7 separate regions of the Homo sapiens genome follow, and all the other regions are linked to region 3. Evidence: promoter capture Hi-C in 16 types of primary human blood cells and fetal thymus (Javierre and others, 2016). All regions are on one chromosome and are shown on one strand. The core of a region is centred on a gene start or on the middle of the fragment in contact, and the rest is flanking DNA. Distances in the headings are between cores, read along the strand shown. Region 1 overlaps MAP3K19 (mitogen-activated protein kinase kinase kinase 19). Region 2 overlaps MAP3K19 (mitogen-activated protein kinase kinase kinase 19). Region 3 holds the start of UBXN4 (UBX domain protein 4). Region 4 overlaps CCNT2 (cyclin T2). Region 5 overlaps CCNT2 (cyclin T2). Region 6 overlaps ACMSD (aminocarboxymuconate semialdehyde decarboxylase). Region 7 overlaps MAP3K19 (mitogen-activated protein kinase kinase kinase 19).

Region 1 (3,021 bases), core at 1-2,500, 720 kb before region 3:
GAAAAAGAAAGAGATCTAACAGGAATTTTTGGGTTGGGAAATTATGCATGTGGAGTGAAAGTATTTACCTGGTTTTGGCATAGAACTCATTAAAATGTCCAAAAGCTGCTGTTTCTTTGAACTCTCTATTTGTGACACATAATGTATTGCTGATTTTCCACTAAAATCACAAAGTTTAGGATCTCTAGGAAGAACAGAATCAACATTAAAGTTTATTTAGTTGAATCTGTTGAAAAAAGAAAACTAATATGAGAGGGAAACATTTACATCAAATAAATAAAAAGTAATCTTATGTAGTTTGGGGATAATAATAATGATTTCAAAATGTGTGAATAGAGGATGACAATTTTACAAGATTTTAAATAAAAGGAATTTGCTGTGTATCTTTATTCCCATCCCCATTCTAAAAACATTCTGAGGTTTGCAGAGAATTCCCAACTTTGGACAAAAATTTTTATAATTCTTTAAGGGTACATAAAATCAAGTAAAGATAAAAACATCTTTTGTTGTTTTTTTTTATATTTTTAAATTTTTTTCAATGAGTCATAAGGATTAAAACATTTTGATAAATGATTGTCTTATCATTCCAAATAGCTCACTTGATTTTTTTCTTTTCAATAATTAAGCTAACTGCTGACTTTTTTGATATTTCTTTTTTCTAATGCTAACAGCTAGCTCTTTTATGATTCAAAATGGTGGAATGGCATAGAATCTTCTCTTTAAAATTAAGCTGATACTTTTATTTCATGGTCTCTTGGATGAGTGGAGCAATCTTGTCATAAAAACCAAAGTGTGCCTCTCCACATGGCCTTTTCTTTTCTTTTTTTTTTTTTTTTTTTTTTTTTTGAGGCGGAGTCTTGCTCTGTCACCCAGGCTGGAGTGCAGTGGCGCGATCTCGGCTCACTGCAAGCTCTGCCTCCCGGGTTCACGCCATTCTCCTGCCTCAGCCTCCAGAGTAGCTGGGACTACAGGGGCCCGCCACCATGCCCGGCTAATTTTTTTGTATTTTTAGTAGAGACGGGGTTTCACCGTGTTAGCCAGGATGGTCTCGAACTCCTGACCTCGTGATCTGCCTGCCTCGGCCTCCCAAAGTGCTGGGATTACAGGCGTGAGCCACCGCGCCCAGCCCCCACATGGCCTTTTCATTCCTCTTTACCTGGCTTTGTGGTTGGTAAGCCCAACTGGCTGATCTTAGGACCATTTACAACAGAACAAGTCTCTTCTTATCCTCTCTATTATGACAGCACAAGTCTCTTCTTATCCTATGTTGTACTGAACCCTTGCATTAGATATCAGCTCAGAGAAATCCAAAGTTAAATGATGAGAATCCCATTAATAGATTACAGTGAGGGAAACAATGATGAAACTTGCTTTACTTATCCTATTCTAGGACAAGGAGCAAGTTGATCATGGTCTCTGTCCTAAAACATTTGAATTTGAATCTCTTCGTTGCTATGGGACAGGGTAATGTGTCATGAGCCACAGTAATATTCTCTTATGGACTTTTCTTCATCAAAGATTGTAATTCAAAAGAAATAGCATAGGACTGAGAATTGGGGTTGCCACTACCTTGATATATGGCTTTAAGCAAGCCACTTATCATATTTGCAGAGAATTCCCAACTTTGGACAAAAATTTTTATAATTATTTAAGGGTGCATAAAAACAAGTAAAGATAAACTCATTGGGGCCTCTCCTCATCTGCCTAGATTAGGGTGTCTCCAAGTGGCATACCTTGATTTCCAGTATTCTGGACCCCAATCCAGACCTACTGAACATCTCTGGGATGACGTCCAGGAATCTCCACTTTTATCAATTGGCCAAACTATTTCTCAACACTAGGCTGAAGTAGCTTCAAAATTCCCTTTTCATTCCATTATACTAACTGATCCTTTTACAATATCTTGTATTCTTGACTATAATTTTGTTCTTGAAGCTCCCTCCTCCTTTTTTTTTCAAAACAAAATTCATATGAAGTACTGAGAAAGAGCTCAGGCCATCTGTTCTTATTTGATGACAAGATAACTAAGTAACAGCTTTAGGAAACTGCAATTGTAACATAAGAGATTGCTTATTAACCCTCTTATTTAAAAAAAAAGTGCATTGTTTATCTCCTCCCTCCTAAAAGAGCATTTGACATATAGTAATTTTAAGATAACTTGAAAACACTATTATAAATTGCTTTTCAGACATTGACAGTGTTTTCTGAAATAATTAGTAATATCTTGGGGGTAGAGAGCTGGATACTCAAGAATTATTTGACATTCCCAGTAACTACCAGAACAGTAATCATTTCAAGAAATGAAACAAAGAGCCAGATATCATAAGAATAATAGGTAGCAAATTTTAGAAACTGCACATCACTTTGCAATTGTGAAGTCACTTTTATGATGATGCATGTGCATTTGGCATATATAGTAGAAAACAGCCTGTAATCTCCACAGCTTGGGAGGCCAAGATGGGAGAGCAGCTTGAGGGCAGGGGTTTGAGACCAGCATGGGCAATATAGTGGGACTCCATCTCCACAAAAAATTAAAAATTAGCCGGGCATAGTGGTATGTGCCTGTAGTTCCAGCTACTCGAGAGGCTGAGGCAGGAGGATCCATGGAGCCCAGGAGTTTGAGGTCACAGTGAGCTATGATTGCATCACTGCACTCCAGCCTAGGCAACAGAGCAAGATCCTGTATAAAAAAGAGGAAAGGAAGAAAGAAAGAGAGAGAGAGAGAAAGGAAGGAAGGAAGGAAGGAGAGGGAAAAGAAAGAGACAGAGAAATAAAGAAAGAAAGAAAGAAAGAGAGAAAGAAAGAAAGAGAGAGAGAAAGAAAGAAAAAAGAAAGAAAGAAAAGAAAGAAAGAAAAGGATGGGAGGGAGGGAGGGAAAGGGTAAAAAAGAAGCTTTGTGTCTCGGTTTACATGTGATTTCTGTAAATAACAATTGAATTGACACCCTTCAGCTGGGCTGACTAACTGCTCATATTCACGCATGATGCCTTAGGAGCTGGGACAGAACTTCCACAGGTTTGT
Region 2 (3,281 bases), core at 694-3,193, 730 kb before region 3:
AAAGATTTACACCATGGATTCCTTTTAAATTGGATAAAGTATTTAGGACTAAAATAATAAGAAAGTATCTGCCCTTGGAGCACTAGGCTCAGACAGTCATGGTTGTGATTAATTGCATAATCAAAAATGAGGAGCAAAGCTGAAATCACATCGACACATAGAAACTCAGTATTTTATACTTTATCATCTCAGTGCCCAGGCTGCTAAGCTGCCCCAAATTCCATCTGGGTAGGTAACTGGAAAGAATCCTTTGGCCACAGTCACAGTGAACAACCCCAAAGGAGCATGATCTTTTCCATAATGCCTCCCTGGGGCATCATTTACATATGGCAAGAATGGAAATCCCTGCCCCTGTGGAAGCTACAGATATAACCCTAGACTGAAAGGAGGCAGCAAAGCTGATTAAAGTCTTCCCTATGACGGCGTTCTGATCTAAATCATGGTGCATAACCTCTTAAACTTCCTTTTCACTCTCTAGAAAATAATCATTATAGTTGAAAACCAACTTGATTTACAAAAAGTACTCCAAACATTTTAAAGAAGAAATGTTTTCTTAGTAGAATTCATTGTTTTTGATAGTTTCCTTCATTCGAAGTTATAGCTGATGATTTTGTGCCTTTAAATTTCTAGAACCATGATAGATCCAAGTAATAGTTAAAACATCCCATCACAACCCGAATGTTACAACTATCTGTCTGGTTTCTATGATCTAGGTGGACTACCTATTTAAGGGGACTGATGGACAATAAGTCTTTGCCCTAAGTGCTCAAGCCTGTCATCTGAAATGTCAGAGAAGTGGCGAGTCACAAAAATTCTCTGATAGCTCATTTATTAATTCCCAAGAGAGCTAGGAAATTTCTTGCTTTTCTCTCCTTGTTCATTTTAATTGTCGTAGCAAATAATAAAAGTTGGCCAGGCATGGTGGTTCACTCCTGTAATCCCAGCACTTTGGGAGGCTGAGGCGGGTGGATCACTTGAGCTCAGGAGTTCGAGACCAGCCTGGGCAACATGGCAAAACCCTGTCTCTACTGAAAATACAAAAATTAGCTGGACGTGATGGCACACCCCTGTTGTCCCAGCTACTTGGCAGGCTGAGGCAGGAGGATGGCTTGAACCCGGGAGGTCAAGGCTATGGTGAGCTAGGGTCACGCCACTGCACTCCAGCCTGGGTGACAGAGTGAGACCCTGTCAAAAGAAAGAAAAGAAAAGAGAGAGAGAAAGAGAGAGAGAGAAAAAAGAAAAGAAGAAGAAAAGAAAAAGGAAATAAAAGTAAAACCTGGCCAGGCATGGTGAGTCACACCTATAATCCTAGCACTTTGGGAGGCCGAGATGGGTGGATTGCTTGAGGCCAGCCTGGACAACATGGTGAAGCCCCATCTCTACAAAAAATACAAAAATTAGCCAGGCATGGTGGCACGTGCCTGTAGTCCCAACTACTCAGGAGGCTGAGGTGCGAGGATCATTTGAGCCATAGGAGGTTGAGGCTGCAGTGAGCCATGATTGCACCACTGCACTCCAGCCTGGGCAACTGAGTGAGACCCTGTCTCAAAAAAAAAAACCAGAAGTAAAACCCTCCATTTATACAGTCATTAAAAATATTTTAGGTATTCAATCATAATAACTTAGTTGTCATACCTTACTTTTATTCAGCAGTTTATACTTAAACATTGTTTTTTAATTTTTATGGGTACATAGGTATATATATTTATGGGATACAGGAGATATTTTGATATAGGCATGCAATGCATAATAATGACATCAGGGTAAATGGAGTATTCATCACATCAAGCATTTATCCTTTGTGTTACAAATGATTCAATTATACTTTTAGTTATTTTTAAACGTACAATTAAATTATTACTATAGTCACCCTGTTGTGCTATCAGTACTAGTTCTTACTCTTTCTTTTCCTTTTTTTTTCTTTTTGTTCTCTCATTGGGTTGATTATTCATTCTTTCTAGCTATTTTTTTTTGTACCCATTAACCATCCCCCTTCCTCCCTACTCCCCACTACCCTTATTAATACTTTCTAAAGCGTTTTCTATCTCCTGGCAAAAGTTGGGTGCCCTACCTCAGACTATCCTGGTTGTCAATGGCGGATGGGTTCACTCAGCTCCTAGGCTGTTGTCAATTTCACTGCTTAACCTTCTCTGTATTTCAAAAATTCTACCATTATCTGGCAAATTCCTCCTCCTTCCTATCAAATCACAAAGGGGGATTTATTCTTCCTAGAACATACAAAAATACAAAAAAGTATTTTTTAAAGCAAAATTTAAAAAATCACCTATAACCTGACAACCAAAGAGCAAACACTGTTAACACAGGAATCATATTTTCTTTGTGTTTCTCTTAAGTATTTAAAAATATAGTTGCATCACATAATTTTTGTATCTGGCTTTTTCACTTAAGTGTAAATTCATAAGCAATTTACTAAGTAAGTGTCATTTTAATTTTAATGGAATTTAAAATTTCTTTCCTTCAACAAATATCAGAGGGTCATAACAGTACTTCTTTTTTTTTTTTGAGATGGAGTCTTGCTCTGTCGCCCAGGCTGGAGTGCAGTGGTGCGACCTCAGCTCACTGCAACCTCCACCTCCCGGGTTCAAGAGATTCTCCTGTCTCAACCTCTCGAGTAGCTGAGACTACAGGCACCCGCCACCATGCCCGCCTTATTTTTGTATTTTTAGTAGAGACGAGGTTTCACCATGCTGGCCAGGCTGGTCTCAAACTTCTGACCTCGTGATCTGCCTGCCTCGGCCTCCCAAAGTGCTGGGATTACAGGCGTGAGCCACCACGCTCAGCCAATAGTACTTCTTTAATAAGCCCCGTTAGTCTTACAATGTAACTCCCATGATGCTTAGTAGGTAATTTAAAATTCTTCACTCTTACACATAGTATTATTAAATATTTGCAACTAATACCCCAATTTTGCATTATTTCTTTAGAGTAGATCCCTAGATATGGAATTATTGACCCAAATACTATGAAAAAGTTGTTTTTTTGTACACACATTGCCTTAAAAGTAAAGTTTATCCCTATTTATAATCCACCAGCAGTGCATGAATGTGCTATATCATATCTTCTCCCTTATCATCATTCCTTTTCATTTAATTAATTAATTAATTATTATTGTTTTCCCTTCTTTTCACAGGTGTTTATATGATTATTGTTATTATTTTGAGGCAGTGTCTCACTCTGGCACACAGGCTGGAATGCAGTGGCACTATCATGGCTCACTGCAGCCTTGAACTCCTGGGCTCAGGTGATCCTCCCACCTCAGC
Region 3 (3,023 bases), core at 377-2,876:
ATTTCCTCATGAAGGCCCTTTCTGACTCCACTAGCCCATGTTCGGTCCCATCCTCATACACTTCTGTAGCACTCTGAATTACCCTTCTGTGACATTTATCATCACTCATAATTACTTATTCAATGTCTGTCTTCCTGACTAGACTGTACAGTCACAAAGACAGGGCCTTCTTCTGACTGCCTCACCTCCTTATCAGTGCCAGGCACAATGCCTAGCTCATAAAAGATGAGTGATAAACACTTGACAAATGAATATAAAACTATGAAGGATTCTTATTTAATTCTAAAATTAGAGATAATTAAAGACATAGCTCTATTGGAATAATTTCTAGATTGATCAAATTTCCAGAAGTCCATTAAAGTTGATGTTAAAGGTCAATTCTAATTTTTCTGTAGGATTGTTGTCCTATAGAAGCAACTGTCCCTAATCAGCATTATGTCTCAGTTTATAATAACACTATATACGAGAGGCCTGATTGGGAAAAAAAGTACAAAAATCGGAGTGCAAATAATTAGCTATTTTTAGGGAAAATATCTGTAGGAAAGGTGGTATATTCAGATGTATCACTTCCTTTATCTTGCAAAGATTGTCAGATAGATGTACTGCTGGAGGATAAATTTAATTGATGTAGAATTTAACATAATAGTATATGCAACTTTAAATAAACCATGCAAGCCTTTAGCTAATAGTTATTACAGACCATGTGATTTCATGAAAGTATTAAATATGGATCAGTTTTCATTTAATGGCAGCCAATCACAAAGCGCCACATCTTGATTATAGGACATTCTCCCAGAAAATTGGAAAATAAATCACTATCTAGTCTCTTTTGTATTACCATGGAAAGTAGCTGGAAAAGAAATAATCTATTCTCTGCTTTGTGTTACTTTAAAAAGTAGCTGTGGCAATAGCCTAACGCGTTTTGAAGTTTTGAAATGATCTCTATCCAGTGTCTAGGAAATTGCTGAAGGCCTGCGTTCTACCAATTCCTCCGCTTAGGCACATGGACTACAGGTTATTAAAGAAGGTGACTTGCGGTTTTTATCCCGTTTTTCTGCAAGGTTGGGCTACGTTCAGAAGAAATCAAAGCCTCGGAGTTAATCCCGACAAAGCCCATTTAGTTCCATGCGAGGACTATTTCCTCCACACTGAGAGTCTCAACGAGGCCGAGAATAGCATATGCCAGTTGGAGTGACACTTATTTCTCCCTCTCCCCTTTATAGAATGTGTAGTGGCCCTCACTACTGCCCCCTTTAGCTGTGCCTCAGAACCCACAGTTACATGCTCCACAATATGGAGGCGAATAAGCCTAAGTGGACTACAATTCCCATCATGCCTCACTGCAGGCGCCGCCGACGTGTCTTAGCGGTTAGTCATCCCTCTTACCGCTTTCCTCCACTTCCTGGACTGCGCGACCGGAGGCCTAGCGGGCGCGCGCCCGCACCATCGACTCGCCAACGAGAGAAGGTCCTGGGGCACGGACACCGACGGGTTGCGACTGTGACGTGAGGTGTTCTCGCGCGCGCTAGCGCGCGTCTCCGGGTGCCGCTGACGGGCGTGCGCGCTTGTGCGGAGCCGGAGGTGGGGGCCGAACCAGCCAAGGTTGCGGGGGCCGCAGAGCCGGACGAAGACGGAGGGCGGAGCCGGCTTCGGGACTGCGGAGACTACACACCGAGCGAGCGCCTGGGCCCGAAGGGAGCGATGCTGTGGTTCCAGGGCGCCATTCCGGCCGCCATCGCGACGGCCAAAAGGAGCGGCGCGGTCTTCGTGGTGTTCGTGGCAGGTGAAGGAGGCAGGGGTTCGAGAGGCGGCCGGGACACCCCTCCGGCCTACCTTCATCCTCTTGTATACCTCAGCCGCCGGCCCGCCCTCCCCGAGACGCGGGCTCCTGTCGGCTCGCACAATTGCCACTACTACCCCGCGCCCCAGGGACGGCTGCGACTCCGCCGCCAGATCCCCCAGAGGGGCCATGCAGACCCTCAGCGCCCTGCTCCTTCAGGCCCCGGGCGCCCCCAGCCTTTCCTCAGTGTCTGCGAGGCCCGGGCTGCCGGCCCGTGGCTGTTCAGCGCCTCCCCGGTTCGTTTGAGATACAGTGGGCCTGGCCCCACCGCTGCGTCTCCCGGCAGCCGGGCCGGAGGCACCGTCTGGCCCTGGTCTCCAAAGCGCCCCGAGGCCCGCCGAAATCTCCCCGCTCGGGGCGACGGACGCGGCCAGCAGGCCCCAGCCGCCCAGCCCCGCTCGTCGCCCCGAGCCTCTCCCCTGCGCAGCCAGACCCCCGCGACCCTCTCCCTGACGTCCCTCTCTGTCACCAAGGACCCTCTTTGTGCTGCTTGAACGCCCGTTTCGTTACTGCTGTTTAGATGGAGGTAGGAACGGGCCATTAGGCAAGCAGTTGGGTTGTAATTAGTTGTGGACTGTCGGGAAGAAAGCTGTGTCATCGATAAGCAACAAAGAGAAACCACCTGATGTTCACGGTTACTGGTGTTAGTACGTTCCTGAAACGTAAACTTTTGAGCTGAATAGAGGTTTAATTTTTCTTTATGGCAGTCTTGGTAGGGGATCTAGTGTGAAATAATGTAAGTTTAAAAAAAATCCATTAGTTTCAAAGAAAATAGACGTTCAGTCCTTGGTTTCTTCCCTTTGTTGTCTTCTTAGGCTAAAATCTACACGACTTTGAGAACGTTTATTAACTCATATATTCTCTGTTGCTCTAGGCTATTTTGCTCCATATTCTCCTGTTTTATTACTGAAATCTTGTAGATTTACAGTGAACTCCCTGCCTCTACGGTTCTGCTCATACTCATTACATGGACCAAATCAATGTTTGTGGCTGTTGTTAATTTGAGGTGTATTTCTTCAACTATTTGTGTTTAATAACGGTTTATTCATAATTAACTCGTCTTTTAATAGCTCTATAACTTTATGCACTGCAGTGAAGAACGAATTACTGAAATGTGAATGTCATTTAGCATTAAATTTGGAATTTATAATTGTTTTGTTACGCCAAGTTTTTAGCTCAATGC
Region 4 (3,289 bases), core at 225-2,724, 810 kb before region 3:
CATCTATGGAGATCTGGCCAGGCATGGTGGCTCACACCTGTAATCCCAGCACTTTGGGAGACAGAGGTGGGAGGATTGAAACCAGGACTTCAAGACCAGCCTGGGCAACTTGGCGAGACCCTGTCTCTACAAAAATTAATTTAAAAAAAAATTAGCCCGGCATCTTGGTGTGCGCCTGTAGTCCCAGCTACTTGGGAGGCTGAGGCAGGAAAATCGCTTGAGCCCAGGAGGTTGAGGCTGCAGTGAGCCACGTTCACGCCACTGCACTCCAGCCTAGGTGACAGAGCAAGACCCTGTCTCAAAAACAGAGAGAGAGAGAGAGAGAGAGAACTAATAAATAGATGCCTTTTTTTTTTTTTTGAGACGGAATCTTGCTGTGTTACCCAGGCTGGAGTGCAGTGGTGCAATCTCAGCTCGCTCCAGCCTCCACCTCCTGGGTTCAAGTGATTCTCCTGCCTCACCCTCCCTGAGTAGCTGGGATTACAGGCATGCACCACCATGCCTGGCTAATTTTTGTATTTTTAGTAATGGCAGGGTTTTACCATGTTGGCCAGCCTGGTCTCGAACTCCTGACTTCAAGTGATCCGCCTGGCTTGGCCTCCCAAAGTGCTGGGATTACAGGCATGAGCCACCCCGCCTGGCCTAAATAGATGTCTTTAACGTTAGCTCCTTAAAAAAAAAAGAGAGAGAGAGAGATACAATTCATATACCGTAAAATCCACCTATTTAGAATGCATAATTCAGTGGCTCACACGAAGTTGTACAACTATCACCACAATCTCAGTTTAGAATATTTTTATCACCCCAAAAAGAAACCTGGTTGCTGTAAGCAGCAGTTCACCAGTCCCACTCCCCTTCCCAACCCTGGGCAACCCCTAAATTATTTTCTGTCTCCATAGATTTGCCCATTCTGGACATTTCATATAAATGGAATCATGTATATATGGTCTTTCACGAAGCATGTTTTCAAGGTCCGTTCATGGTGTAGAATGTGTTAGTACTTCATTCCTTTTTACTGCAGAGTAATTAATATTCTATTCGTCATGTGGCTGTACCTCTTTTTATTTATCCATTTATCAGCTGATGGACATTTGGGTTGATTACACTTAACAGCCATTCCACTGGCTATTATGAATAATGCTGCTATGAACATTCATGTACAAGTTTTTATGTGAACATATGTTTTCATTTCTTACGGGTGAGAGTTACATGAGAGTGGAATTGCTGGATTGGTATGGTAACTTTAGACTCCAATAATCTTTTTGGATAGCTTTTAAGAAACATTTTGAGGAACTGCCGAACTGTTTTCCAAAGTAGCCATACCATTTTGTGTTCTCAAAATGTGTGAGGGTTGCAATATCATCACTTTTCTCGTCTTTTTTTTATCGTAGCCATCCTAACAGTGTGAAATGATATCCCCTATTCTATGCATTGTCATTTTTATGTTCTTGGTGGTATTTGCAGCACAAGCATCCAGTTTATTAATATTTTTCTTCTGTAACTTGTGTTCTTGATAGCATATCTAAGAAACCTTTACCTAAACTAGAGTCATAAAGATTTATTTGTCTTTTCTTCCAAGAGTTTTATAGATTTAGCTCTTACATTTAGGTCTGTGATTCCTTTAGAGTTAGTTTTTATGTATGATGTAAATAAGGATTTGAATTTTTTTTTTTTTTGAGACATCTCACTCTGTCCCTCAGGCTGGAGTGCAGTGGCGCCATCTGGGCTCACTGCGTGCTCCACCTCCCAAGTTCACGCCATTCTCCTGTCTCAGCCTCCCAAGTAGCTGGGACTACAGGTGCCTGCCGCCACGCCCGGCTGATTTTTTGTATTTTTAGTAGAGACGGGGTTTCACCGTGTTAGCCAGGATGGTCTCGATCTCCTGACCTCGTGATTTGCCTGCCTTGGCCTCCCAAAGTGCTAGGATTACAGGCATAAGCCACCATGCCCGGATCTTTTTTTTTTTTTTTTTTTTTTTTTGGTATTTGAATATACAGTTGTCCCAGCACCATTTGCTGAAAAGAGTTCTTTCTCCCACTGAATTTTCTTGGGATTGTTAGTGAAAATCAATGGATCATAAATGTAAGCATTTATTTCTGGACTCTGGATTCTATTCCATCCCCTTATGCAGACCACATAGTCTTGATTACTGTAGCTTTGTAATAACTTTTGAATTTAGGAAATATGAGTCTTCCAACTTTGTGCTTTTTCAAGATTGTTTTGGCTATTCTTAGTCCCTTGTATTTCCATGTGAATTTTAGGATCAAGCTCATCAGTTTCTACAAAAGAAGCTGGGATTTTTATAGGGATGACATTGAATCTGTAGATAAATTTGGGGAGTACTGCCATCTTCGTGATAATCTGTTCGAAGGAAAGTGGCCTTTTGTAACATTTATGTAGTATATTTGAATTCCTGTGCAATGTTAATGTTCTTGTTTCACAATACAAGTCATTTTTTGTCCTTTTGGTTTTTTAAGAGAAGGGATCTCACTCTGTTGCTCAGGCTAGCCTCAAACCCATGGACTCAAGCAGTCCTCCCACCTCAGCCTCCCAGGTAGCTGGGACTTAGAGTGGTATTTTTTAGTATTTATTGTAGGCTGTTAGGAGCTGTGTCTATATAAGAGAGAGTAGATAGAGCCTTAACTATGAAATACTAAGTATACTTTATAAGTTGGTTTTTTTCATTTTTTCTTTTTTGTTTTTTTTCAGACAGTCTCACTCTGTCACCCAGCCTGGAGTGCAGTGGTGCTCGCTGCAACCTCCGCCTCCCAGGTTCAAGCGATTCCCCTGCCTCAGCCTCCCAAGTGGTTAGGATTACAGGTGTGTGCCACCATACCTGGCTAATTTTTTTGTATTTTAGTAGAGACGGGGTTTCACCATGTGTTAATCTTGAACTCCTGACCTGTTGGTCTCAAACTCCTGACCTCAGGTGATCCGCCCGTCTTGGCATCCCGAAGTGCTGGGATTACAGGCATGAGCCACCACGCTCGGCTGATATTTTTTCTTTTTTAGAAACATTCATAATGCTCAGGTACTCCCCACTAAATAATTTTTTAAATGCCGGTTATGTTAACCATTTTCAGTATATTGTTTAAGTATAATGTAGTTACTCTATGGAAGTCAAGCCTTATTCTCTTAATCAGTACTGCTTTTCAGCAATATTGAATACTGATATTTTGGGGCCGTTATTAACCCAGCTTTCTTTTAAATGTAATTAGGTATCTTAACATCCAGCTTGAAGATTTTTTTTAATTTTTTAATATAAATTTGCTTTCATGTCAGTCTTTCA
Region 5 (2,912 bases), core at 125-2,624, 790 kb before region 3:
ACGGGAAGTCAGGGCTGCGGTAAGCCTTGAAGGCACTGCTCTACTCCAGCCTGGGTATATATTAACTACCACCAAATATCTAAAGCTTTTTCAGGACTTAAAAAATAAATAAGTAAGGTTTAGAATTCCATAAGCTGACAAGATAAGAATAGTGATTTAAAGTATACTAATTCTGTTGAGTTTTAAATGTGTATACTGAAAGTTGAGTGTTAACTGTGAAGCAGTAAACGAAAGGGATTTTCAGGGGATTGTGTTTCTTGCTCTGTATTACCATTGTTGCCTTACATTGTTAAATATGAATACACAAGGAGAAATTGTGGGTGTGTGTTCTGTTAATTAGGAACGTGGAATTTTGGGGATGTTTTGATGAGAAATTCCTCTGGTTGAGAAGTAAAAGAAGCCGGCCAGAAATGGGAGATTCTTGGGATTAGGGCATTTTAACCACGTACTGTAGATTTCAGCAAGAAAATAGATAACACTTTTTTTTTTTTTTGAGTCAGTCTCACTCTGTCGCCAAGGCTGGAGTGCAGTGGTGCAATCTTGGCTCACCGCAACCTCCACCTCCCGAGTTCAAGCAATTCTCCTGCCTCAGCCTCCCAAGTCGCTGGGACTGCAGGCACGAGCCACCACACCCAACTAGTTTTTGTGTTTTTAGTAGAGATGGGGTTTCACCATGTTGGCCAGGCTGGTCTCAAACTCCTCACCTCAGATGATCTGCCCACCTTGTCCTCCCAAAGTGCTGGGATTACAGGCTTGAGCCACTGTGCCTGGCCTTGTTTTGTGTTGTTTTGTTTTTTGAGACAGATACTCACTCTGCCCCCCAAGCTGGAGCGCAGTGGTGCAACCTGGGCTCACTGCAACCTCTGCCTCCCAGGTTCAAGCGATTCTCCTGCCTCAGCCTCCTGAGGAGCTGGGACCATAGGCGCATGCCACCACGCCCAGCTAAGTTTTGTATTTTTAGTAGAGATGGGGTTTTGCAGTCCACCTGTCTTAGCCTCCCAAAGGGCTGGGATTACAGGTTTGAGCCTCTGTGCCCCACCTGATGTTTCTTTAAGATAGGGGTCTGCAAAGAGTAACACTATTTTAGAGTTTGTGAACTATAAGGTCTCTGTTGCAACTATACAACTATACCATTGCAGCCAGAAAGCAGCCATAGGCAATTTGTAACTGATTGGGTGTGACTGTGTTCCAGTAAAACTTTTGTTGACAAAAATAGGTGGCCAGCCATATTTGGCCAATTATCCATAGTTTGCCTGTTCTTATTTGTGAAATATGCTTCTTTGTTTCATCCTTTTCTATTTTGTTTTCCACCTGGAAAAAATTATCCCAGAATATATATCTCATGCTGTATTATTGCTGCATGATTATAATGTTTTTCTTAAATTGTTAGAGGCTTTTTCAGAGTTTATCCAGAGGAAAGGAAGTCTTCAATGAGTTGAAATGACATCTAAAACTCAGTGAGGGCTTATCTGTTCTATAGCTTGAAAAATCAGGTTATCTAGGTCATTGTTTTAGTTTAATAGTCACTAGATTAAGATTAGGTAGGCAAAATTTTTTTTTCGGGGGGGGGGTGGGGGACAGAGTCTCAGTCGCCCAGGCTATAGAGTGCGGTGGCGCAATCTCGGCTCGCTGCACCCTCCGCCTCCCGGGTTCAAGCAGTTCTCTGCCTCAGCCTCCTGAGTAGCTGGGATTACAGGTGCCTGCCACCACGCCTGGCTAATTTTTGTATTTTTAGTAGAGATAGGGTTTTCACCATGTTGGCCAGGCTGGTCTTGAACTCCTGACCTCATGATCCACCCACCTTGGCCTCAAAGTGTTAGGATTACAGGCGTGAACCACCACACCCAGCCAGTAGGCATAATCGTAATAAAAATAGTTTATATACCTGGTGCTGAAGTAAAAAGATCACAGAAAAGTAATCTGCCTTTTATCCTGTCTTTAGGTCAGAGGTTAGGTTGTGGTTTATGTGGGGTTTTTTGACACAGGAGGAGCTACCTCATTTCCATTCTGAAAAGTAAAGTTTGTTAATTTGGAGAGCAATTGAATAGGAATCTTGGAGAACTGATATGTTAAGACTTTCACCATGTTTTGCAGCAGCTTTTTTTTCTGTGTCAGTCACAAAAAGGCAATTCAAAATTAAAGACATGAAGGTGTGGCCGGGTGCAGTCACTCACATATCTTGAGCACAGGAGTTTGAGCCCAGCCTGAGCAACATGGCAAAACCACGTTTCTACTAAAAATACACACAAACCGGGCATGGTGGCGCACTCCTATAGACCCAACTACTGTGGAGGCTAAGGTGGGAGGATCACCTGAGCCTGAGACGTCAAGGTTGTAGTGAGCTGTGATAATGCTACTGCTCTCCAGCCTGGGCAACAGAGGAAACCCTGTCTGGGGGGAAAAAAAAAGACATGAAGATTTATCTGAATTGTAGAGTGAAGTGATACTACTATTCTTATTACTTACTGAAATAATTCACTTAATGATTGTGTTCCAGAAAAGAACATTGGCTTAGACAGTAGCTTTGAGAGAGAAGGGCCTCTATTTTAGGCACATACTGTGATTTTTGTGCATATAGCTAATTAATTATGTTAATGGATTATTTAACAGATTCTTTTGTTGTTCTGCTATAAAATTTAATACAGTAGGATACTTAAGAAAAACAAAGCTTACATTTTGTGTACGAGATTTTGGACCAGAACTTGAAGTGTATTTAATGTTTTACAACCAAGTTGTTAACAGAAATTGAGTCAAAACAGTTTTGTTAATGTTGGACCCAAAAGTAGAAAAATAGTCTTTTTTTTTTTCTTTTTTTTTCAAATGAGGAAGTAAAGGTCTGGGCATTAGGGTTTTTTTCATCCAAACTGGATGAAAAAGCTCATGAGACTTTAGCAGGGACTAGTCATGACATT
Region 6 (3,005 bases), core at 154-2,653, 840 kb before region 3:
AAGAACTAAAACCACAAACTCTTAGAAGAAACCATAGGTGTAAATCTTTGTGACTTTGGGTTAGGCAATAGTTTCTTTGCTATGGCACCAAAAGTACAAGCATCCAAAGAAAATAATAGATGAAGAAGACTTCATCAAAATTTAAAACTTTTGTGCTTCAAAAGACAATACCAAGGAAGTAAAAAAGACAACTCACCGAATGGAGAAAATATTTGCAAATCATGTATCTATAAGGCTCTAGTATTCAGAACACACAAAGATCTCTTATAGCTCAATGATAAAAAGATAACAAAATGGACATGAATGTACACAAGGGATCTTAGTAGACATTTCTCCAAGGAAGAGATACAAATAGCCAATAAGCACATGAAAAGATGTTCAACATAATTACTTATTAGAGAAATACAAATAAAAACTACAGTGAGATACCACCTCATACCTACTGAGATGGCCATAATCAAAAAGATGAATAACCAATGTTGGCGAGGATCTGGAGAAACTGGAACCCTCATACATGCTGGTGGGAATGTAGAAAGCTGCAGCCATGGTAGAAAATAGTTTCTCAAAATGTTAAACATGGACTCACCATATGCGCCAGCACTTCCACTCTTAGGTACGTATTGATTCAAGCAATAACATGGGTGAACCTTGAAAACATTAAACTAAATGAAAGAAGGCTACATATTATGTGATTCCATTTATGTGAAATGTACCAACCAGGCAATTCTGGAGACACAGAGGGTAAACTAGTGTTTTCCAAGGGCTGGAGGGAGAAAAGAATGGGGAGTCACTGCTAATGGGTACAGGGTTTATTTTGGAGGTGACAAAAATCTGTGGTTATATAAGATGAAAAAAATTTTTTTAAACATTCTATAATTAGTGGAAATGATTACACAAACTTATGAATATACTAAAACCCATTGAATTATACACTTTAAAGGGGGTGAATTTTATGGTATGTGAATTATATCTCAAAAAAAAAAGAAAAGGGGATATTCTGACCCCCAAGCCCTAGTCCTACTCCATGGAGGAAATTAATGTTATTTGTTTCTTAGATACCATTCCTGAAATAGACTGTATATATACAAACATATATTTGTGGGTCTATAGGTACCTTATTGAAAACAGAAATCAAAGCATAGCAGACACATTGTTCTAGACTCTTTATTTCTCTTTATAACTTCAAGATCATTCTTCTTTACACTGTAACTTGGAGATTATTCCATTTCAGCATATGTAAGTATTCTTTATTCTTTTCTATTTGGAGATATTCTGTAATTTAATTGGCCAGTCTTTTGCTGTTCCAAATAATGTTGCAATTTATTTCTTTGTATATCTTTCCAGCACAAGTGTATGAGTGGAATACATTTTGAGAAGTAAAATTTCTGGTTTGAATTTTTATTTTATTTTACTTTGATAAATTGCCATTATTGACATAATATCTTTCTCACTTGATTATGAGTTCCTTCAGAAAAGGAACCATGTCTGTTTTGTTGACAAGGGTACATCTAAATTCTAGCACATTGTCTGACACAGTGCTTAATATATTTGTAGATTGACAAGCCTACGTATTTTATTGTATAAAGTGTCAAATGGAAATTCAAAGCTATACTGTTCAAAAACTTATGATCCAGTTTATAGGAATTGTTTATAGGAACTGATCCAGAGATAGGGGATTTTCTTTTTCTATTTTTTGTTTTTGTTTTTGTTTTTTTTTTTTTACTTTTTATCGAGTTATTTGTTTTTTATGTTTCCTTTCCTACTCTGTTAATAGTATGTTTTGAAAAACTGTGGAATCAATTGCAATGTATCATTCTAAGAAAGACAGAATCCCTTAATTTCATCTGAATATATATATTTTAGTAAATAAATATCAATTTCTTATATTTCAGTATTCTATATTTCAGTTATTTAAAAAGAGAGAGAATGGGGTTGATTTGCAACAAAGAGACCTAATAGTGACACCTGCTGGAAAAAAAAAGTCAGAATAAAATTTGAACCATTAAATCTTTTTAAAATTTTAGACAAGTTTTATGTTTCTATTAATCAGGAAAAAATGTGTTATTTTTATGACAGGAATGTTTGTAATAAGTAAACAATTGTTTACAGGAGGCTCTTTCATGTTTTACAAAACAACAGAGAAATATATATTTTGTTTTTTAGGATAAAGTCATTTTGGGAACCGATTACCCCTTTCCACTAGGTGAGCTGGAACCTGGGAAACTAATAGAGTCCATGGAAGAATTTGATGAAGAAACAAAGGTATAATGTCTTTTACTTCACGGCTTTCTTACTGACTTTTCCTGCTCTAATTGGGTTTGGTTTCAGAGCACTTTGATATATAAAAACAAAGAACAGAGGAACCATTACACTGAATTCCCTAAAACTATTACTCTATCTCCATAAATAGCTAAACTATTAAAGGACAAAAAAAATGACAAAGCTGAAAGTCAGCCTAGTACAACTAAATTCATAAACCCAAGAAAGAAAGTTGTATAGAAGGATATGACAATAAAATATGCCTGCATGTTAGATAGATCATAGGAAAAATGTCTAAATTTTTTCTATATTACTTCTGTTACAAATCTACCAATCTCAAAAGTTGTAATAACTCTAGTTATTTAGATGATGAAACTAAAGTCTTGATTAAAAGGATCCAAGGAATCAGATCCTTTAAGTAACTAGACTTTATTTTTTTTCCCGGCGTTTGACTTTTAAGGCAGGTAAATGATACTAATATGTGCTATAATGCTACCATTACCTAGTCTACCCCTTAGACTCCTAAACCAAGATGAGTTTAAAATGAGATGCAGTGTCTTCAGTTTCCCTCTCCTTTGCCACTCCTTCCACACCCCCATCCTCCAAAAAAATAAGTTCTTCCTAAGACCTTCACTGCCCATCACTCCCAGGAGTCAGGGATGGCCAAAAATAACAATATGAGAATATATAAACTCTTAATAAATCTTACAAAACTTTTAGTTGTAATCCTTTTGCATAATTCTTGG
Region 7 (3,194 bases), core at 690-3,189, 750 kb before region 3:
GTCATCAAAGACTACACTGGATAAGCTTTTAAGTACAGTACACTCTTCTAAAATATTGTTTGGTTCCATTGCTTCATTTTTATGTAATGAAACTCTTTTTGAAGCAGCTTTATTATTTCTCATCTCTTCATCCTGGCTTGGAGTTATTTCTGAATGCTGGGTTTCTTGGAACTTGCTTGGAATGGTACATACTATTTCTGGATCTTGTTCATAGTTTTTGGCTACTGAACTCTCATTCTTTCTTGATGAAAGATATTGAGAGTTCTCTTCTTCAGGTTTTCGCGTTTTACTACCATGGCAGTCAATATCCTCTTCCCTAACTGCAGGAATATTGCCTTCCTTCAAATTCTCAAAAGACACCAAAGACTGCCCTTTTTCAAAGTGAGTGATTTCAATTTTGTTACATTCTTCTATTTCCTTGGATTTCCAGTTTTCCTCCTTCTCCAGGCATTGCCTGTGATGGTTAGTCTTAGGAAAAGAGCACATGTTTCTTGACCAAATGAAGCCATCAGAAGACCTGAGAGTCGGATCCATCAACGACTTAACTAGGGCTCCCGGAGGCTCGTTTGATGGGCTGAGCTCATCAGATTGACGAACAGACACTGAGAGCTTAGGCACAAAAGATGTGAGACTTGGAATGTTTCTTTCTTTTTCTTTTGGAAACTTGTGATTTTGGGGGATAGTAAGGACACCAGATCGCGTGGGCAAGAGTGACAGTGGTGGCAGAAGGAACTAAAAGGAAGACAGAAAAAGCTGTGAATGCAGAAACATATATAAATATCACGCTAACTCGTTTAAAGTAGTCTAAAGAGATTATAATATCCTCTTAAGGAAGGCTTTTAAAGTTCAAAGCTATCCTGGAAATCACAATTCTTTTTTTTCTTCTTGAGACAAGATCTCGCTCTGTCACCCAGGCTGGGGTGCAGTGGCATAATCACAGCTCATTGCAGCCTTGACTTCCTGGGCTCAAGCGATCCTCCCACCTCAGCCTCCCAAGTAGCTGGGACTGCAGGCATGTGCCACTATGCTCGGCTAATGTTTAAATTTTAGTAGAGACAAGGTCTCTCTATGTTGCCCAGGCTGGTCTCAAACTCCTGGCCTCAAGCAATCCTCCCACTTCTGCCTCCCAAAATGCTGGAATTACAGGCATGAGCCACTATGCCTGGAAAGATCACAATTTTTAAAATTAAAACCTCATTCCCAATATTTTTTTTAGAACCAATTTAAAACAACACGTTTTAAAACCAGGATTATTATAGATGTAAATATTCATGGTTATATATTTTTAAATGAAGGCCCTATAATGTAAATGGTAAAAATTTAAGATAAGAAGCATTTTATTTCTCTTCTTTTTTCTTTTTACTTTCCATAGAATTGATTTAAGATTTTTGAAATCCCACTGAAAACAGTTTAAAATTGCTGTTAAAATACCTCAAAAATTACCAGTTATTGACTAACTCAGAATTCATATCCGAAACACAACTACTCACCATCGTTTTGCTGAATTAGTTTGTGAATGAAATGTACAAAATTTCATTTTTGTGGATGACAGGCAAATGGATGGCTTTCCTTTCTCCTTTGCCCTCTAGTTTCAAACTAAGCTAGTTTTTCCTTTCTCCTTTGCCCTCCTCTAGTTTCAAACTAAGCTAGTTTTTATTATCATCCTGTAGAGGTCAGTGTAACCCAATGTATAATATTAAACTTTGCGGGCAGTAAGCTATAAACTCCTTAACTTTATGCTTCTTTTCATTGTGGTCTTTTCCTGTGTATACAGATTCAATACCTATTTATATCACAATATTTATAGGCATGGGTCATGGGTAGTAATTGAGAAATGTATGTTTAATTTTCATTCTATTGCCACCTGTGTGTAAGAAGGAAGGAAATGGAACCTGACTCTAGAAACTTAGGCATTAAAAGTAGATGAGATGTAGTGTAGACCCCAGTTTTACTGTCTAGATGATTTTCCTCATTTCTCAAAAATGACTTAGGACATAAAGGCAGATTCATCCAGTGCTTAACCATCTGCCTAGTAACAGCCATTACAATTTTTTAGGTCAATAAACTCCTTTTACAATGCTAAGCAGTACCTATGCATAAGTATTTCTCAAAGGCTCATAGGAAAAGAAGGGTCAGGTAGTTGAGAAACTAAGAATTGCAAATATCTTTCCAAAAACTTATAAATTAGACAGCTAGGAAAATCTTTCCACCACTGGGGGAAAGAAAAGAATTGCCTAATTTCTAAATAGGTTGAAAAAAGACAAATTAAAATATGTCTGGCCAGGTGTGGTGGCTCACACCTGTAATCCCAGCACTTTGGGAGGCCGAGGCAATCGGATCACTCAAGGTCAGGAGTTCAAGACCCACCTGACCAACATGGTGAAACCCCATCTCTACTAAAAATACAAAAATTAGCTGGGTGTGGTGGCAGGTGCCTGTAATCCCAGCTACTCAGGAGGCTGAGGCAGGAGAAACGCTTGAACCCAGGAGGTGGTGGTTGCAGTGAGCCGAGATTGTGCCAACTGCACTCCAGCCTGGGCAACAGAGTGAGACTCTGTCTCAAAAAAAAAAAAATGTCTAAGGGAGCTACTCAGCTCATTATGTAAAGAACAGAAACACTCCAGAAAAGCACTGCACATGGCAAGGCATAATTTTCCCAGGAACGATTTGCTACTCTAGGAACTATATGTGAGTTGTTGTTTTTCCAAGAAATACAGTTGACCCTTGAACAACAGGGCTTCAAACTACGCAAGTCCACCTATATGTGGATTTTCTTCCTCCTCTGCTACCTCTGTGACAGCACGACCAAGCCCTCCTGTTCCTCCTCGTCCTCAGCCTATTCAACATGAAGACAGTGAGGATGAAGACCTTTATGGTGATCCACTTCCACTTAATGAAGAGTAAATATATTTTCTCTTCCTTATGATTTTCTTTTTTTGTTTTTTTTTTTTGTTTGTTTGTTTGTTTTATTTTTGAGACGGAGTCTTGCTCTGTTGCCAGGCTGGAGTCCGGTGGCATGATGTCGGGTCACTGCAACCTCCACCTTCCAGGTTCAAGCAATTCTCCTGCCTCAGCCTCCCGAGTAGCTGGGACTACAGGCACCCGCCACCATGCCCAGCTAATGTTTTGTATTTTAGTAGAGACGGAGTTTCACCATGTTGGCCAGGATGGTTTCGATCTCTTATCCTCGTGAA

What was found. The method cuts DNA at HindIII sites, captures the fragments that hold promoters and counts their contacts. A CHiCAGO score of 5 or more calls a contact.
Region 1: a fragment that was not itself captured here is called in contact with the fragment with the promoter of UBXN4 in region 3 in 5 of 17 cell types (naive B cells, naive CD4 T cells, M2 macrophages and 2 more); the score reaches 7.2 in naive B cells.
Region 2: a fragment that was not itself captured here is called in contact with the fragment with the promoter of UBXN4 in region 3 in 14 of 17 cell types (total CD4 T cells, M2 macrophages, fetal thymus and 11 more); the score reaches 11.7 in total CD4 T cells.
Region 4: a contact is called between a fragment that was not itself captured here and the fragment with the promoter of UBXN4 in region 3, in 11 of 17 cell types (non-activated CD4 T cells, naive CD8 T cells, activated CD4 T cells and 8 more). The highest score is 10.2, in non-activated CD4 T cells.
Region 5: a contact is called between a fragment that was not itself captured here and the fragment with the promoter of UBXN4 in region 3, in 11 of 17 cell types (total B cells, total CD4 T cells, erythroblasts and 8 more). The highest score is 12.3, in total B cells.
Region 6: a fragment that was not itself captured here is called in contact with the fragment with the promoter of UBXN4 in region 3 in 1 of 17 cell types (non-activated CD4 T cells); the score reaches 5.9 in non-activated CD4 T cells.
Region 7: a contact is called between a fragment that was not itself captured here and the fragment with the promoter of UBXN4 in region 3, in 9 of 17 cell types (megakaryocytes, erythroblasts, non-activated CD4 T cells and 6 more). The highest score is 11.3, in megakaryocytes.

Annotation. Positions count from the first base shown.
Region 1 is chr2:135,024,558-135,027,578 of GRCh38, forward strand. It overlaps MAP3K19 (mitogen-activated protein kinase kinase kinase 19), which reads right to left. Exons shown (of 13, transcript NM_025052.5): 4 at 69-184. The coding sequence starts at 90. Among named protein-coding and RNA genes, the nearest start is that of MAP3K19, 21 kb to the right of the region's middle. The HindIII fragment of the contact is 3,280 bases long and covers 1-2,890 here.
Region 2 is chr2:135,005,618-135,008,898 of GRCh38, forward strand. All of the region lies in intron 5 of MAP3K19 (mitogen-activated protein kinase kinase kinase 19), which reads right to left. Among named protein-coding and RNA genes, the nearest start is that of MAP3K19, 40 kb to the right of the region's middle. The HindIII fragment of the contact is 7,045 bases long and covers 1-3,281 here.
Region 3 is chr2:135,740,229-135,743,251 of GRCh38, forward strand. UBXN4 (UBX domain protein 4) reads left to right here and starts at 1,627. Exons shown (of 13, transcript NM_014607.4): 1 at 1,627-1,783. The coding sequence starts at 1,702. LOC107985946 (a long non-coding RNA gene) reads right to left here and starts at 2,416. Exons shown (of 1, transcript NR_163478.1): 1 at 601-2,416. RefSeq lists enhancers at 1,245-1,374, 1,705-1,764, 2,093-2,868 and a silencer at 2,165-2,214. The HindIII fragment of the contact is 10,462 bases long and covers 1-3,023 here.
Region 4 is chr2:134,929,308-134,932,596 of GRCh38, forward strand. The region is part of intron 2 of CCNT2 (cyclin T2); the gene reads left to right. Among named protein-coding and RNA genes, the nearest start is that of CCNT2, 12 kb to the left of the region's middle. The HindIII fragment of the contact is 7,188 bases long and covers 1-3,289 here.
Region 5 is chr2:134,948,242-134,951,153 of GRCh38, forward strand. The region is part of intron 7 of CCNT2 (cyclin T2); the gene reads left to right. Among named protein-coding and RNA genes, the nearest start is that of CCNT2, 31 kb to the left of the region's middle. The HindIII fragment of the contact is 2,583 bases long and covers 84-2,666 here.
Region 6 is chr2:134,896,178-134,899,182 of GRCh38, forward strand. It overlaps ACMSD (aminocarboxymuconate semialdehyde decarboxylase), which reads left to right. Exons shown (of 10, transcript NM_138326.3): 9 at 2,164-2,262. All of the region lies in intron 1 of CCNT2-AS1 (CCNT2 antisense RNA 1), which reads right to left. Among named protein-coding and RNA genes, the nearest start is that of CCNT2-AS1, 21 kb to the right of the region's middle. The HindIII fragment of the contact is 5,396 bases long and covers 1-3,005 here.
Region 7 is chr2:134,987,522-134,990,715 of GRCh38, forward strand. It overlaps MAP3K19 (mitogen-activated protein kinase kinase kinase 19), which reads right to left. Exons shown (of 13, transcript NM_025052.5): 10 at 1-732. Among named protein-coding and RNA genes, the nearest start is that of MAP3K19, 58 kb to the right of the region's middle. The HindIII fragment of the contact is 3,833 bases long and covers 24-3,194 here.